4 separate regions of the Homo sapiens genome follow, and regions 2, 3 and 4 are each linked to region 1. Evidence: promoter capture Hi-C in human tissues and cell types (Jung and others, 2019). All regions are on one chromosome and are shown on one strand. Each heading gives the region's core, a stretch centred on a gene start or on the middle of the fragment in contact. The rest is flanking DNA. Distances are from core to core; before and after follow the strand shown. Region 1 holds the start of BOD1L2 (biorientation of chromosomes in cell division 1 like 2). Region 2 has its middle 24 kb from the start of LINC-ROR. Region 3 has its middle 34 kb from the start of LINC02565. Region 4 has its middle 13 kb from the start of LINC02565.

Region 1 (2,944 bases), core at 175-2,674:
GTATGTCCTCAATGGTTTTCTCTGTCAACATCTCCCCTCTCCAACTAGATTGTAAGCTTTTCAAAGGCTGGCCATGTTGCCTGTCTTAAACAACAGCCACAGCAAACATTTATTGAGTGTTAGACTGGGCCAGGCACGTGGAGAGCTCCATAAAGCTTAGCACAGGGCCACATCGACTAGTCCCTCAATAAATATTGATTAATTTAAAAAAATACAGAACTGAATTGTCGAGCTGATCATGGGGATGGTGAGGAGCATAGGTAGGGGGTTGCTGTGGTGAAGTCTTGGTAGGTTCACTGTCTCCTGTGGGATGAGATTCAGAATACGTCCATCTGAGGCATCTGTACTTGTATGTCAGAAGCTATGGGGTGAGGTTATTGACAGAGTCTGTTGTGTAAACTTTCTTTGTGAAATATACTACCTTTAAGCTATGTTACGGCTTATAGAACAATGTGGTGTCTACATCTCAGGGGCATTTTAATTCAGGGAAGTGAGTGTTGGGGTGAAATCAGGGATCTGCTTTTCTTTTGAAATATTGATAGAAGGTTCTTTCTGTGCACCTGCACTTCTCTATTGGATGGCGCTGGATGTGGTTGCCTTTTGTGGCTCTTGGTTGCAATACAGTTCTCTTGTTGAAATGACCTCCTTCTGACTGACACATCTGCCCTAGGCTCATCAATGGCTACCAAAGCCAATGGACACCTTGTGGAACATAGTGTGGCATTTCACCCATGGCCTTCATGAAATGTACCTTTTGCGGTCTATGATCCAAGGCTTTTGTAGTTTTCCCTCCATCTTTTTAGTGTTGTTCTCAGTCCCCCTCATGGGCTCTCCAGGTGTTCCTCTATCTCTTCTAAGTTCTCCATTGTAATTGCCACCTATAGTCTCTACCTTCAGTGAGTTAGATGTCTCTCCCCAGCCCCTAGTCCTTGTATCTTTGGACTTCATAGGCAGATGTCTGCATCTGAATAACCCATACCCATCTTAAACTAGTAAATAAAAATGGAATGCACGATCATGTCTCTGTCTCCCATCCTCACCTCTATACCTGTTCTCCATTTAGTAAATGGCACCTCCATGCACCTGCCCAAGTGAGAAGCCTGGGGGTCATCCTTGACCCTCTCCTTTCCCTCGTCCCTCACCCCGTTGTTCTCCAATCCCTGGGATGAGTCTATCTCCTAAATATCTCTTGTATCCCTGTTACCTTCTTCACCTGCCAGGCCACGAAGATCATTCACTCCTCGCCATCTCCTTCTTAGGGCACTGAAATGGTTGCTGAAATTGTCTCCCTGTTTCGCCCTTGCCCACTGGCATTTGTTTCCCACCTCCCTCTTAGAGATCTTTTAAGAAATGCAGATTACGGTTCCCGCCTCACAATGCAAAGGTCAACGGTGACGCCATCTGGAGCGCGCTTGGAATCCAGCAGGCGGTTGCTGCCGCGTCTTCCACAACCTCCGCGGTCTGGAGCTGGCCTCCCCCACCGCCGCCCCAACCACCGGCCCCGCCGCCATCACCACCACCGTCACCTCCGCCGCTGCCTCCTTGGGGCCCTCCTCCTTCACCGCCCCCTTAGCCACCTCTACACATTCTAGGCTTTCTGTCCTGGAGAAGAAGCTATAATCGGTTTCCTTGTGGGCCCGGTGCGCAGCCATGGCGGACGGTGGCGGCGGCGGCAGCGGCGGTGCGGGCCCGGCCTCGACCCGGGCCAGCGGGGGCGGCGGCCCCATCAACCCGGCCTCGTTGCCCCCTGGCGACCCTCAGCTCATCGCTATCATCGTGGGGCAGCTCAAGAGCAGGGGCCTTTTTGACAGCTTCCGCCGGGACTGCAAGGCTGACGTGGACACCAAGCCAGCTTACCAAAACCTGAGCCAGAAAGCGGATAATTTTGTGTCGACACATCTGGACAAGCAGGAATGGAATCCTCCAGCAAACGACAACCAACTGCACGATGGTCTGAGGCAGAGTGTGGTTCAGTCAGGGAGGTCAGAAGCTGGAGTGGACAGGATTAGTTCTCAGGTGGTGGATCCAAAACTAAACCACATCTTCAGGCCACAAATAGAACAAATAATTCATGAATTCCTGGTGGCCCAGAAAGAAGCAGCTGTGCCAGCACTCCCTCCAGAGCCAGAAGGCCAGGACCCTCCAGCTCCGTCTCAGGACACTTCCTAAGAATATGCCTGACAGCTTTTGAAAGCGCTATTTAATTTTTGGTGAAGAAATGGATTCGGTTACATAAGAGTGCAGTTTCAGATTGAAGATAAGCCAAGTTCATCACTGAGCTCAAGATTTCCACCTCGACCATGAGCAGTGACCAGATTGAAAGGGAAGCAAGTTCGCCAGAGAGAAAGTTGACCGTGGCACCCTCCTGCATTGCGCTGCCATTTGGCCAGCCTTTCCAAGGGCATGACACCAAACACACACTACAGAGAGGGAAACACTACCGCGACCCAGGATTGTCCTGAAACAGACATCTATACTTGAACATGGAGACTGCACATGGATTTTAGGGTTTGTGCTCTGAGATAAACGAAAGCTACAGCGAGAGAACATAACCAATCCCAAAGACAATTTCAAAGAACAATGACAGTAAAGGTTAACTGGGAGGAATATTTGACAGTACTTATTTGATATTGTCTCTCAGAGTTGCAAACTAGATTGTACACAACATTAGTGTCAGATAGCTTTGAAGTTGTGACCTTCTTGTACATGAATCTTCTAGCCAGTTTCCTTTCCTTTGTAAGAGATAACAAAGCATGAAACCCTAGAATGAGTGAGAAGTTCAGACATTAGGTATAAGGAAACTCATTTGCAGACTCTCTGTCCAAGAATGCTTCCTGTCTTGCAGGGGCTAGTGAGTCTTGGGTGTGTTTATGTTATGCTCACATTTGTGTTTTATTTGAAAAGTGGATGGTCAATAAATGGCTTATCTTTCAACTGCAACAAC
Region 2 (2,944 bases), core at 294-2,793, 51 kb before region 1:
ATTGCTCTGGCCTTTGCAAAGCCTCAGGCTCTTCTCAGAATCCTCGAACCCTAGGGAGCCCTGCTCTTTGCTCCTCTCTGCTCCAGCAAGAATGTGGTCTTCCAACAGCACCAGCTGTGGTTGGAGGAAGAGATCCCAGCCTCACCCCAGAGCCTACAGATCTCATACCCTCTGTGTTCCGGCCGTGGGTCCCCCGCTCTGTCCAGTGCCGTGACCCAGTGCATCCCTCACCTTTACGCATCTCCTTCTGCTTGGGCTCCAGCCACCCTCCCCACTCCTGTGCGGCCCGCCGTGTCAATGGAGCCTTATACCCTGCTCTTTGGAACAATTCTCTAGCTTGCCCCAGCTCTCAGATCAAGATTTTGAGCTCTGGCCAGTACCTCCCTCTTCACCTCATCTTCCATCCTCCCTGGCATAGACTTCTGGTTAGTAAGGCTGAACCACATGCAGCCTCCTTGAGGGGTTCTCATGAGTCCCACCAGGGGTCCTGGGATCCAGAGGAGAAGGCCCTGCTCAAAGGGCTCAAGTTCTTTTCTTTACGGACCTCTGTTCAATGACTTCCAACTCTGGAAGGTGTTCACTATGGGCTTTTTATACTCCTAATTTTCAGAAGAAAATTGGAAGTGTGTCAAAAGATACTGGCCTGGGATTCAGAGCCTGGGGCTCTAAACCAAATGCTACCACTAATTAGGTGAGTGGCCCTGGCAGCCAGCCTTTTTGTGAAGTGAGGGGACTGGAACTCTAGGCCCCTTTCGGTGGGGACATCTGTGCTTCAGAAGGGCCCCAGAGCCTCCAGAAATCTGGCTTAACAAGAACACATTTTGATATTTTCTGACTTGCACATTTCCTGGGGAAAACCAATGAGCTTACACCTGTAATCCCAGCACTTTGAGAGGCCCAGATGGGTAGATCGCCTGAGCTCAGTACTTTGAGACCAGCCTGGCCAACATGGTGAAACCCCATCTCTACTAAAAATACAAAAATTAGCCAGGCATAGTGGTGGGCATCTGTAATCCCAGCTACTTGGGAGGCTGAGGCAGGAGAATCACTTGAATCCGGGAGGTGGAGGTTGCAGTGAGCTGAGATCTCTCCACTGCACTCTAGTCTGGCAACAAAGCAAGACTCCATGAAGAAGAAGGAGAAGGAGAAGGCGAAGGAGAAGGCGAAGGAGAAGAAGAAGGAGAAGGAGAAGGAGAAGGAGAAGGAATAGTAATGTTAAATCAAAGCAGCAATGCTGTGAGGTAGTTGCCACTTAGACAAAAGCGAAGCTTTCAGATGAATACGAAACTTTGCACTACACCCAGGCAAACCTGCTGCTTGGTGCAATACAGCCTGTGATGTGGGGTCTCGTGCTCCCTACCCCCCACACTCAGTTTGCCTTGTCTGAGTAGTTTCTGAGCACTGCCCAGGCTGGGATGCCCTTCAGGGTGGCTGCTGACAAGCACATCTGCCAGAGGAAACTAGAGTCTGAAGGGTTCTTGGATGCTCTGATACGCGCTGAAAAGAAGTCAGGCTTCAGTTAGAAGTGAAATCTGAGACTTCGGTTTCCTGCAGAGAGCAAAGGGAGAAGGCAGAAATATTGAGGCTAAGAAGTCAGGCAGTGGGAAACAAGAGAGAGTGATTCATGCAGGGGAAGACAGCTTGGGAGCAGTGATAAGAGAAGGAACAATACCAGACACACAGGCTGGTAGAGTCAAAGGAAAATGATTTTGCAAGATAGCGTGAGTCCTGGATGGACACACACTGCAACATTTTGGCTGAGTCTTCCTGGGTAGGTTTGGGACCTGAGTTGTTTTACAGGAAGACCCCAGCTCCTGATGGAGAAAGCCCACAATATAGACAGGCTGGAACGTAATAAAAACATTACATTTTTATTATGTTTTATTAAATAGGCTGGGTGCAATGCCTTATGCCTGTAATCTTAGCACTTCGAGAGGCCAAGGCAGGAGGATAGCTTGAGCCCAGGAGTTCAAGATCAGCCTGGGCAACGTAGCGAGGCCCTATCTCAAGAAGAAGAAGAAGAAGAACAACATCAACAACAACAACAAAACACTTAAAATACACTTTGAGGAGCTTCTAGCTTTTTACCTGATATGCCCACTGGCCAGAACAATTTCCTGTAGGAACTGACCAGATCCGCGTGGTCCAGAAGCCAAATTGTAAAATCAGAGAAGCTGGTCTTCATTCTTCACCTTTATTTTCTGAATCTGTCTCCCCCCACCTCCCTACCTTCCGTGCTTTCAGTGCCAACTTCCCTATCTTTACATTTTCTACCCTCTCTCTCTCTCCCATAAACCCTTGTGACAACCTTACTGTTAGAATGGGAATATGTCTGGTAAATTTCTTCATACCATGAAGTCTTAGGGACTTGATGTGCTATTTCTTTGAAGGGATTAAATTATTAATAGCAACATTTTTGACACCAGTTAGAAAATATTTTGTCAAGGACCTTCCCATGAGTTCTATATCTTCCCATAAGCCCTCTATCTATATCTTACAATGCAGGGCAACTCTTTCTACCGCCCATGACTGAGACCCACTGGGTGCAAAGTCTGTGGGAAAGTCATGTTTTGATGACCGTGATGGTCACCAAAATGACTTCTTTGGGAAGTGGCCTAGTGCAGTCATTTGGATTCCAGCCTAGCCACTTTCTAGCTGTGTGACATGATGCACATTTCTTTTAAAGTTTCAGCTTCCTGGTCTGGAAAACAGACGTAAGAATGGTATGCCCCTCATGGAGCTATCTTGGGGATAAGATAGTATGGCATGAAACAAGTGCTCAATAAGTATTTGCGATCATGCTTCCTTGATTGTGAGGTAGGCTTATGTGAAGATGTATTTGAAGTCTCACTTGATTCTGTTGTTGGAGATCCATTGTATACCTTTATCTCCTATAATTTCAACCTCAAAGTAGAGTTTGAACAAAACTTAGAGACATTTATGG
Region 3 (2,944 bases), core at 147-2,646, 58 kb after region 1:
TGGGCCTTGAGGATATGGAAGATTTGGGCAGTGGAAAGAGAGATAAGGGGGAGGAGAGAAGGCCTAGAGATGACTCCCTCAGATAGGCAGAGAGGCCCCAACTCAGGACCCAATGCTAAGCTTCGTGGTGTCAAGTTCTTCCCTTCTGCAACATGCTGGCATTTTAGGACATCTAATTTCTACTTCCAGAGTGAGCATCCAGAGGTCTACCGCAAAGAAGATAGTACTGTAAGTTAGGAAACCATATAAGGATGGGCAAGTCTCAACCCCTCTGGTCCTTTGTCTCTGTTAAATAAGAAACAGAAGCTAAGAGAACTTTAAGTTTCTCTTTCCATCAATTTGCTGAATAAATTCTCTAATTCAGGTCCCAGAACCATGAGACATAGACCCCACTTTTAAAATAAACTTTATTAAGGTATAATTTATATACAGTAAAATGCATTTAAGTGTAAATTTTGATGAGTTGTGACAAATTTATATACCCATGCCATCACCACTATAGTCAAGATAGAGGACATTTCCATTACCCCCCAAAGTCCCTCTAAGTCCTTTCCCAGTCAATTGTCACTTTCCTCCACTCCAGCCCTAGCTAATCACAGATCTACTTTCTGTCATTATAGATTAGATTACTGTTTTCTAGAGTTAAGCATATGTAATCTGCACTCTTTGATGTCTGGCTTTTTTTATTCAACATGTTTTGAAATCTATCCATCAGTATGTATCAGTTAGTTCATTCCTATATAATGCCGAAGAGTATCCCACTGAATGGATATACCATAGTTTGTTGACATATTCATCTGTTCATGGACATTTGGGTTGCTCTCAGTTTTGGACTATTAAGAATAAATCAGCCGGGCATGGTGGCTCACGCCTGTAATCCCAGCACTTTGGGAGGCGAGGCAGGCAGATCACCAGGTCAGGAGATCAAGACCATCCTGGCCAACATGGTGAAACCCCATCTTTACTAAAAATACAAAAATTAGCTGGGTGTGGTGGTGCATGCCTGTAATCTCAGCAACTCAGGAGGCTGACTCAGGAGAATCGCTTGAACCAGGGAATTGGAGGTTTCAGTGAGCCGAGATCACGCCACTGCACTCCAGCCTGGCAACAGAGCAAGGCTCTGTCTAAAAAAAAAAAAAAAAAAAAAAAAAGAATAAATCTACTCTGAATGTTCATGTACAAGTTAATGTGTGAATATTTATTCTTATTTATTTTGGGCAAATACCTAAGAATTAGTTTGTGTGGTTTCATGGTAAGTATATAAATAACTTTGTAAGAAATTCCAAACTGCTTTCCAAAATGGCTGTGCCATTTTTCATTCCCACCATTAACATGTGAGTATTCCATTTGATCTATATTGTTGTCAACTCTTGGTATTGTCAGTCTTTTAAATTCTGGCTGTACAGGTTTTGTTTTGATGTTTGATTTTAGGTTATGCCTACACAGAAGGGCCCTTAGAGCATTTCGGTGGGAGCTCTGTATTATGCTGCTTGGATCCAGGATGAGTTCAGGTGTCTCAGATTCTTTCAGGTCCAAATACACTAGCCAGTTTCACCAGCAGTCAAGAGCAGGATGAGCCTGATGACTTGATGCCATCTTTACCACCCATACATGAGTCAAGCTTTAAGGTCCTCTGCAGTCAGATTTCACAGTCCTAGAGCCACAGCTAATGCCTCCCTGAGCTCTCCTAGTGGGCGACTGACACATTCTTTAATGAAGAGACGCTGCCTTTGAGTACCAGGAAGTTCTTCTTCCCATTCATGGCAACCCCTTCATCTGATTATATGTTTTAATGAAGGAGAATGAGGAGAGAAAATGAGTGCCAGACGTATCTGGAATGGGTCTGAACAATAATTACATTCTGCAGTGAAATTTCTAAAATGCTCCATTCAGTGTGCTTTGGAAAAGGCTGGCAGGGGAGAACTGCGTGTTCCTGAAAACAGAACTAAGGAAGCGCAATTTAAAGCTCTAGCATAGAAACATGCCTACAACAACTGAAGAAAGCCCTTTCCTTTTTCAAAAGAAAAAATATAAATTGAAGCTCAGTGAAGAGTGAACATTCAGACCTCCCTGGTAATGGATTCCTTCCCACACTGGATTCTAAAACAGTAAGGGAAGATAACAGGGTACATCCAACCTCCTCAGCCCCAGGGAAATTTAACTGGGTGAATATTGGTCGGATACCTCACCAGACTCCAGAAACTGAAGTGCCCTGATCGGGCAGCTCTTTCTTCCTCAGCCAGGCTGTGATTTGTCTACAACTGAAGGCAAAGAGCTGAGGGTGATTATGAGCTGTGTCTCTGGTCTGTGAGGGTGACCACCAGGAAGGCAGTGCTGGTGACACTCCCAGGGGCCCAGATGCTCCCCTAGAAGGTGACACTCCCAGGGATCCAGATGCTCCCCTAGAAGGTGACAGTCCCAGGGATCCAGATGCTCCCCTAGAGGGATGTCAGGTTTCTGCCTGAAAATTCTAGTATTTCCTCTGTACTCCCCAAAGGGATGGAGGCCATGTCAGCCTTACATGTGGGCACCAGAGGCCAATTTTAAGTGTCCACTGGCTGTGGCCCTTCCCCCCGTCCCACAGTAGTCTTATCCCTGTCCTGACAGTTTGTATGGACAAAACTTCCCCTGAAGCTCAGAATGCTGAGAGGTTTTCTAAGCATGTTCCAAGACCTAGGGCTTCTTAGAGATAACATGGAAATGTCCCCCCACCCCCTCAACAAATCCCCGTAGGATTCTATAACAATTCCAAAGTCTGTGCCTTTAACAAAAGGCAGAGAACAGGCATTTTAGAGAACCCATCCAGAATCAGATTTTCTGGGTCCAAATTGTATGACTTTCCTGGTAGTTGGGATTCTCCAGAGAAACAGAACCAGTATATATTTTTATTACAAGGAATTGACTCAAGTATGGAGGCTGAGCAGTTCCAAGATCCGAGAACCAG
Region 4 (2,944 bases), core at 152-2,651, 37 kb after region 1:
TATATAAGATCATGTCTTCTGCAAACAGGGACAATTTGACTTTCTCCTTTCCAACTTGGATGCCTTTTATTTCTTTTTCTTACCCAATTGCTCTAGCTAGGACTTCCAGTACTATGTTGAACAATATGATAAAAGTGTGCATCCTTATCTTGTTCCAGTTCTTAGAGAAAAAGCTTTCAAGTTATTGCCATTAAGATGTCAGCCATGAGTTTGTCATATATGGCTTTTATTGTGTTGAGGTATATTTCTTCTATACCTAACTTGTTGAGAGTTTTTATAATAAAGGGATGTTGAATTTCATCAAATGTTTTTCATGCATCTATTGACATAGTCACATGGTTTTTGTCCTTCAGTGTGTTGATGTGATGTATAAGGTTTATTGATTTGCATATGTTGAACCATCCTTGAATTCCTGGGTTAAATCCTGCTTCATCATATTGTATAATCTTTTTGATGTACTATTGGATTTTGTTTGCTAGTATTTTGCTGAGGATTTTTGCACCTGTCTTTATCAGGGATATTGGCCTGTAGTTTTCTTTTGTTGTTGTTGTGTTCTTCTCTGGTTTTGGTATCAGGGTAATGCTGGCCTCAAAGAATGAGTTTGGAAGAATTCCTTCCCCTTCAATTTTTTTTCCCTGGAATATTTTGAGAAGAGCTGATGTTTGTTCTTTTTTAAAAGTTTCGTAGAATTCTGTAATGAAACCATCCAGTCTTGGGCTTTTTGTTGTTGCTGGGAGAGTTTCCATTACTGATTCAATCTTGTTGCTCATTATTGGTCTGTTCAGGTTCTCTATTTCTTCTTTGTTCAATTTTTGTAGGTTGTATGTATCCAGGAATTTATCCATTTTCACAAGGTTTTTTAATTTTTTGGCATATAATAGTTTCTAATGATTCTTTGCATTTCTGTAGTATCACTAGGATCATTACTTTTTTCATTTCTAATTTTATTTATTTGGAACTTCTTTTTTCTTAGTCTAGCTAATAGTTTGTCAATTATTTTATCTTTTCAAAAAACTATTTTTTGTTAAACTTTTATATATTTTTTAGTCCCTGTTGTGTTTATTTCTGATTTTATCTTTATTATTTCTTTCCTTCTACTAATTTTGGGTTTGGTTTGTTTTTGCTTTTCTAGTTCCTTGAGGTGCATTGTTAGGTTGTTTATTGAAATCTTAGAAAGATTTAATGGAGGTGTTTATTGCCATAAACTTCCCTCTTAGTGCTGCTTTGACCTATAGGTTGTGGTTGTGTTTCTCTTTTCATTTGTTTCAAGATATTTTAGGGCTAGGCGCGGTGACTCATGCCTGTAATCCCAGCACTTGGGGAGGCTGAGGTGGGCTTTTCACCCGAGGTCAAGAGTTCGAGACCACCCTGGCCAACATGGCAAAACCCCATCTCTACTATAAATTTACATGTATTTGCACAGTTACCAAAGTTCCTCTTGTTACTGATTTCTAGTTTTATTCCATTGTTGTCTAAAAAGCTATGTGATATAATTTCAATTTTAAAAAATTTGCTAAGACTTGTTTTATGGCCTAACATATGTCTATTCTGGAAGATATTCCATTTGCTAATGAGAAGAATGTATATTCTGTAGCTGTTAGATGAAATGCTCTGTAAATGCCTGTTAGGTCAATTTAGTCTATAGTGCAGTTTAAGACTACAGTTTCTTTGGTTTCTGTCTAGGTGATCTGTCTATTGTTGAAAGAGAAGTGTTGAAGTTCTCAACTATTATTGTACTGGAATATCTCTCTCTTTTTAGATCTAATAATGTTTACTTTATATATCTGAGTGAACCAGTGTGGGGTACATATACATTTACAATTGTTATGTTCTCCTACAGAATATATCTCTTTATTGTTATATAATGACCTTCTTTGTCTCTTTTTACAGTTTTTGACTTAAAGTGTATTTTATCTGATACAAGCATAGCTACTTCTGCTCATTCTTGGCTTTTGTTGCATGGAATATCTTTTTTCATTCCTTCACTTTCAGTCATAGGTAAAGTGAATTTCTTCTAAGCAGTATATAGTTGGGGTTTTTAATTCATTCAGTCAGTCTTTATCTTTTAACTGTGAAATGTAAACATTTACATTCAAGCTATTAATTGATGAGGACTTACTTTTGTCATTTTAATAATTGTTTTCTTGTTGTTTTATATATTGTTTGTTCTTTTATTCCTTTTATTATTTATCTCTCCCATTGGTGGTTTTCTTTTCTTCTACTTTTTTTTTTTTTTTTTTTTTTTTTTGAGACAGGGCCTCTCTCTGTCACCCAGACTCGAGTGCAATGGCATGATCATAGCTCACTGCAACCTCAAACTCCTGTGCTCAAGTGATCCTCCCACCTCAGCCTCCTGAGAAGCTGGAACTATAGGCATGTGCTATCATACCTAGCTAATTTCTGTATTTTTTGTTGAGCCGGGGTCTTACTATGTTGCCCAGGCTGATCTTGAACTCCTGGACTCAAGCAGTCCTCCTATCTTGGCCTCCCAAAGTTCTAGGAAGTAAAGGCATGAGCCACTGTGCCTGGCCAAGTTGGTGGTTTCCTATAGTGATAAGGTTTGATTCCTTTTTCCTTTTCCATTTGTATATCTGCTCTACCAGTGAGTTTTATACTTCTGTGTGTTTTCATGATGGTACTCATCATCTTTGCTTTCATATGTGTGACTCCTGTCAGCATTTTTTGTAAGGCTCATCTAGTATTGATGAATTCCCTCCAGTCTTGCTTGTCTGAGAAAGACTTTATTCCTCCATTTATGAGATAGCTTTGCTGTGTATAGTATTCTTGGCTGGCATTTTTTTTTTCTTTGTTTTAGCACTTTGAATACAACATTCAATTCTTTCCTGGCCTATTAGGTCTCTGCTGAAAAAATGCTATTAGTCTGATTCCCTTATGTGTGACCTCATGCTTTTTCTCTTGCTGTTGGTAGAATTCTCTTTGACTT

The links. Contacts are between HindIII fragments. The study calls those that stand out against the background at their distance.
Region 2: a fragment that was not itself captured here is called in contact with the fragment with the promoter of BOD1L2 in region 1 in 1 of the 25 tissues and cell types used here (H1 embryonic stem cells).
Region 3: a fragment that was not itself captured here is called in contact with the fragment with the promoter of BOD1L2 in region 1 in 7 of the 25 tissues and cell types used here (aorta, bladder, heart right ventricle and 4 more).
Region 4: a fragment that was not itself captured here is called in contact with the fragment with the promoter of BOD1L2 in region 1 in 8 of the 25 tissues and cell types used here (aorta, hippocampus, mesendoderm cells and 5 more).

What each region holds. Positions count from the first base shown.
Region 1 is chr18:57,145,663-57,148,606 of GRCh38, forward strand. BOD1L2 (biorientation of chromosomes in cell division 1 like 2) reads left to right here and starts at 1,425. Exons shown (of 1, transcript NM_001257964.2): 1 at 1,425-2,944. The coding sequence starts at 1,651. The coding sequence ends at 2,169. RefSeq lists an enhancer at 1,594-2,189. The HindIII fragment of the contact is 20,182 bases long and covers 1-2,944 here.
Region 2 is chr18:57,094,502-57,097,445 of GRCh38, forward strand. No RefSeq gene overlaps it. Among named protein-coding and RNA genes, the nearest start is that of LINC-ROR, 24 kb to the left of the region's middle. The HindIII fragment of the contact is 4,490 bases long and covers 1-2,944 here.
Region 3 is chr18:57,203,938-57,206,881 of GRCh38, forward strand. No RefSeq gene overlaps it. Among named protein-coding and RNA genes, the nearest start is that of LINC02565, 34 kb to the left of the region's middle. The HindIII fragment of the contact is 4,703 bases long and covers 1-2,944 here.
Region 4 is chr18:57,182,353-57,185,296 of GRCh38, forward strand. No RefSeq gene overlaps it. Among named protein-coding and RNA genes, the nearest start is that of LINC02565, 13 kb to the left of the region's middle. The HindIII fragment of the contact is 4,241 bases long and covers 1-2,944 here.